Regions from separate parts of the Homo sapiens genome. Here region 2 is linked to region 1. The links are contacts of gene promoters, found by promoter capture Hi-C in human tissues and cell types (Jung and others, 2019). All regions are on one chromosome and are shown on one strand. The core of a region is centred on a gene start or on the middle of the fragment in contact, and the rest is flanking DNA. Distances in the headings are between cores, read along the strand shown.

Evidence for each region. Contacts are between HindIII fragments. The study calls those that stand out against the background at their distance.
Region 2: a contact is called between a fragment that was not itself captured here and the fragment with the promoter of IL10 in region 1, in 1 of the 25 tissues and cell types used here (bladder).

Annotation. Positions count from the first base shown.
Region 1 is chr1:206,771,244-206,773,943 of GRCh38, reverse strand. It overlaps IL10 (interleukin 10), which reads left to right and starts at 1,450. Exons shown (of 5, transcript NM_000572.3): 1 at 1,450-1,673; 2 at 2,529-2,588. The coding sequence starts at 1,509. All of the region lies in intron 1 of IL19 (interleukin 19), which reads right to left. RefSeq lists cis regulatory regions at 1,200-1,739, 1,200-1,821. The HindIII fragment of the contact is 3,211 bases long and covers 1-1,509 here.
Region 2 is chr1:206,545,872-206,548,704 of GRCh38, reverse strand. The region is part of intron 2 of RASSF5 (Ras association domain family member 5); the gene reads right to left. Among named protein-coding and RNA genes, the nearest start is that of RASSF5, 40 kb to the right of the region's middle. The HindIII fragment of the contact is 6,695 bases long and covers 1-2,833 here.

The DNA of each region.
Region 1 (2,700 bases), core at 201-2,700:
AGGACAGGTGCTATTGCCCTGTTGGGACAGATGAAAAACAGACACAGGGAGGATGAGTGATTTGCCCTGACTATAGAGTGGCAGGGCCAAGGCAGAGCCCAGGCCTCCTGCACCTAGGTCAGTGTTCCTCCCAGTTACAGTCTAAACTGGAATGGCAGGCAAAGCCCCTGTGGAAGGGGAAGGTGAAGGCTCAATCAAAGGATCCCCAGAGACTTTCCAGATATCTGAAGAAGTCCTGATGTCACTGCCCCGGTCCTTCCCCAGGTAGAGCAACACTCCTCGCCGCAACCCAACTGGCTCCCCTTACCTTCTACACACACACACACACACACACACACACACACACACACACACACAAATCCAAGACAACACTACTAAGGCTTCTTTGGGAAGGGGAAGTAGGGATAGGTAAGAGGAAAGTAAGGGACCTCCTATCCAGCCTCCATGGAATCCTGACTTCTTTTCCTTGTTATTTCAACTTCTTCCACCCCATCTTTTAAACTTTAGACTCCAGCCACAGAAGCTTACAACTAAAAGAAACTCTAAGGCCAATTTAATCCAAGGTTTCATTCTATGTGCTGGAGATGGTGTACAGTAGGGTGAGGAAACCAAATTCTCAGTTGGCACTGGTGTACCCTTGTACAGGTGATGTAATATCTCTGTGCCTCAGTTTGCTCACTATAAAATAGAGACGGTAGGGGTCATGGTGAGCACTACCTGACTAGCATATAAGAAGCTTTCAGCAAGTGCAGACTACTCTTACCCACTTCCCCCAAGCACAGTTGGGGTGGGGGACAGCTGAAGAGGTGGAAACATGTGCCTGAGAATCCTAATGAAATCGGGGTAAAGGAGCCTGGAACACATCCTGTGACCCCGCCTGTACTGTAGGAAGCCAGTCTCTGGAAAGTAAAATGGAAGGGCTGCTTGGGAACTTTGAGGATATTTAGCCCACCCCCTCATTTTTACTTGGGGAAACTAAGGCCCAGAGACCTAAGGTGACTGCCTAAGTTAGCAAGGAGAAGTCTTGGGTATTCATCCCAGGTTGGGGGGACCCAATTATTTCTCAATCCCATTGTATTCTGGAATGGGCAATTTGTCCACGTCACTGTGACCTAGGAACACGCGAATGAGAACCCACAGCTGAGGGCCTCTGCGCACAGAACAGCTGTTCTCCCCAGGAAATCAACTTTTTTTAATTGAGAAGCTAAAAAATTATTCTAAGAGAGGTAGCCCATCCTAAAAATAGCTGTAATGCAGAAGTTCATGTTCAACCAATCATTTTTGCTTACGATGCAAAAATTGAAAACTAAGTTTATTAGAGAGGTTAGAGAAGGAGGAGCTCTAAGCAGAAAAAATCCTGTGCCGGGAAACCTTGATTGTGGCTTTTTAATGAATGAAGAGGCCTCCCTGAGCTTACAATATAAAAGGGGGACAGAGAGGTGAAGGTCTACACATCAGGGGCTTGCTCTTGCAAAACCAAACCACAAGACAGACTTGCAAAAGAAGGCATGCACAGCTCAGCACTGCTCTGTTGCCTGGTCCTCCTGACTGGGGTGAGGGCCAGCCCAGGCCAGGGCACCCAGTCTGAGAACAGCTGCACCCACTTCCCAGGCAACCTGCCTAACATGCTTCGAGATCTCCGAGATGCCTTCAGCAGAGTGAAGACTTTCTTTGTGAGTATGATTCCTTCCTGTCCTTTCTCTCTTCCTGGGACTGCCTGAACTAGACATTCTCCTGGAACTATAAGAACCCTCCTCCTGCGCCTCCACCTCCATCCCCAACACCTATTCCCCCAAACTTAAATTCTTAAGAGAATCCTAGATCAAGCCATGGGTTTGGTGAGTTAAGCTAAGCCAGATGATACAGTAAATGTGCAGGAAACCTGCCTTATAAAGTAAATGCGTTCTCTCTCGTGCTGAGAAACTTATAAGATCCTGCTGGCGCTCTATACTTTATTGGCTAGGAGAAGTAAAGAAATGTCTGATTCGAGGTGAAGATGCTCCCCATGCCTTGCAGCAGGGAAATTTAAATTGCCTCTGCTTAGAGCGTTTCCAGACCTGAAAGACCAGTGGTTTAGGGAAGCACTCTACATGAGGGAAACCTGCATTAGAAGGAGCTTCTTAATCCCTGGGATCTTTCCAAGCTAAACTGGATGTCTACAGTGGGGAGAAAGAAAAGCAGAGAACAGGACATGAGGGGGGCTCAAGGCCCCGAAGGGTTGACATAGGTGTCCCTTAAAGCCGAATGTAGCTCCGCAGAAAGAAGACCAGGACTGAGTCAAGCTTCTGCTTTCCCTTCAAAATCGGCCAGATTTTTTAAATAACTTGACTCTGAGGAGGAGGACCTGATTTAAGTGATGGTCCCATCACTGTTGAATCCTCTGTTTTTAAAACTCCCCTTTTGATTTTTTTGGGCCAGAGCCAATTTTATTTAAAAAAAAAAATCTCTAAATGAAAGGGCATCAAAAAGACCGCATTTCAGTTATTTCCCCAAACCTCAAGTTCATTCTCCTTTTGTTCTTCCTGCAGCAAATGAAGGATCAGCTGGACAACTTGTTGTTAAAGGAGTCCTTGCTGGAGGACTTTAAGGTGAGAGCAGGGGCGGGGTGCTGGGGGAGTGTGCAGCATGATTAAGGGAAGGGAGACTCTGCTTCCTGATTGCAGGGAATTGGGTTTGTTTCCTTCGCTTTGAAAAGGAGAA
Region 2 (2,833 bases), core at 328-2,827, 230 kb after region 1:
TGAAAACTATAAATCCACAGATCCAACAAACTCAATGAACACCCAGTACAAGAAACATAAAGACAAGTACAAAAGGCACATTGTAACCAATTGCTCAAAACCAGTGTGATACAGTTTGGATATCTGTCCCCTCCAAATCGCATGTTGAAATCTGACCCCTCATGTTAGAGGTGGGGCCTGGCGGGAGGTGTCTAGGTTGAGGCGGCAGATCCCTTATGAATGTCTTGGTGCCCTCCCCATGGTAATGAGCATCTCGTATTGTTCCTTCATGTGAGAGCTGGTTGTTCAAAGGAGCTTGGCGCCTCCTCCTCTCTCTCTGGCTCCCTCTCTCACCATGTGACATGCCTGCTCTCCCTTCACCTTCCGCCATGAGTAAAGCCTCCTGAGGTCCTGATCAGAAGCCAAACAGATGTTGGTGCCATGCTTGTACCGTCTGCAGAACCATGAGTCAAACTCTGTTCTTTATACATTGCCCAGTCTCAGGTATACCTTCATAGTAACACAAAACAGACTAATACATAGCGATAAAAAGAAAAAAGAAGAATATGTTATATACAGAGGAGCAGAGATAAAGATACCAGTAAATTTATTGTTAGAAATAATGCAAGTGAGGAGGTAGTGAAGCAACATCTTCAAAATAATGAAAGAAAAAAAGTGCCAACCTAGAAATTTCTATCCCATAAAAATCTCTCAAAAAGGAAGGTGAAATTAGAACTTTTTCAGACATGGAAAGTTGAAAAAACTCATCATCAGCACACCCACAAATACAAGAAATGTTAAAGAAAGTCCTTCAGGCAGAAAGAAAATGATATCGGATGGAAACCTGGATCTACCAGAAGAAAAAAAAGTACCAGAAATGGTAACCAAATGAATAAACAATTTCTTATCATTTAAATCTCTTTAAAATATAATTGGCCATTTAAATAAAATAGTAACAATATTGTAAGGGGCTTATAGCAGTGGTCCCCAACCTTTTTGGCACCAGGGACTGGTTTTGTGGAAGACAATTTTTCCATGGACTGGGGTGGGGCTGGTGGTTTGGGGATGACTCAAGTGCATTACATTTATGGTGCACTTTATTTCTATTATTATTACATTGCAATATATAATGAAATAATTATACAACTCACCATCATGTAGAATCAGTGGGAGGCCTGAGCTTGTTTTCCTGCAACTAGATGGTCCCATCTGGGGGTGATGGGAGACAGTGACAGATCATCAGCCATTAGATTCTCATAAGGAGCACGCAACCTAGATCCCTCGCATGCGCAGTTCACAATAGGGTTCAGGCTCCTCCGAGAATCTAATGCTGCCGCTGGTCTACAAGGAGGCAGAGCTCAGGCTGTAAAGCAAGCCATGGGGAGTGGCTGTAAATACAGATGAAGCGTGGCTTGCTCTCCAACTGCTCACCTCCTGCTATGCAACCTGATTCCTAAAAGGCCATGTGTGTGGCCCTGGGGGCTGGGACCCCTGGCTTGTAGTATATGCGAAAATAAAATACAGGACAAGAATGGTACAAAGGTCTGTAGATGAGAAATGGAAGGATACTATCATTTTTGTCTTTTCTTTTCTTTTTTAAAATTTTTTTTGGTATAAAATAGAGACAGGGTCTCACTATGTTGCCCAGGCTGGTCTCGAGCTCCTGGGCTCAAATGACCCTCCTACCTCAGCCTCCCAAAGTGCTAGGATTACAGGTGTGAGCCACTGTGCCTAGCCAGGGTTTTATACTATACATGACATGGCATAGTATCATTTGACAGGTAGACTGTGATGAGCTAAAGATGTACAGATGGTTCCCTCCTTACAACGGTCCTACTTATGATTTCTCAACTTTAAGATGGTGCTAAAGAGATGCACATTTGATAGAAACCATAATTTAGGTCAGCATTCAATAAATTACATGAGATATTCAACACTTCATAAGAAAATAGGTTTGGTGTTAGATGATTTTGCCCAATTATAGGCTAATGTAAGTGTTCTGATCACATTTAAGATAGGCTAGGGTAAGCCATGTTGTTTGGTAGGTTAGGTGTATTAAATGCATTTTTGACTTCAGGTATTTTCAACTTTCAGTGGGTTTATTGGGATGTAATCCCATAAATTAAGGACCATTTATATACTGTAAATGCTAAGACAACCATTAAAATAACAAAACAAAGGGTTAAAGCTTGTAGGCAACAAATGGGATAAAATGCAATCATAAAGTACATTCAAGTAGTCCAAAAGAAGGCAAGAAAGAAAAAAAGAAAAAGTGAACCAAGAACAGATAGAATACTCATAGAAAACCAATAGCTGGCCGGGTGCGGTAGCTCATACCCATAATCCCAGCACTTTGGGAGGCTGAGGTGGGAGGATCACTTGAGCCCCTGATCACTTGAGACCAGGCTGGGCAACATGGCGAAACCCGGTCTCTACGAAAAGTACAAAAAAGTCAGCCAGGTGTGGTGGTGCATGTGTAGTCCCAGTTCCTCGAGAGGCTGAAGTGGAGGATCACCTGAGCTTGGGGAGGTTGAAGCTGCAGTGAGCCATGATTGTGTCACTGCACTCCATCCTGGGTGACCGAATGAGATCCTGTCCCAAAAAAAAAAAAAAAAAAAAAAAAAAAAAAAAAAAAATAGAAAAAGAAGAAAGAAAAGAAAAAAAGTAGTAAGAAGATAGACTTAAAATCTAGCTATATCGTGAGCCGAGATCGCGCCACTGCACTCCAGCCTGGGTGACAGAGCAAGACTGTCTCAAAAAAAAAAAAAAAAATCTAGCTATATCAATAATCACATTAAATGCAAATGATCTAAATACTCAAAGGGTAGAGATGAGCAGATTGGTTTAAAAAAAA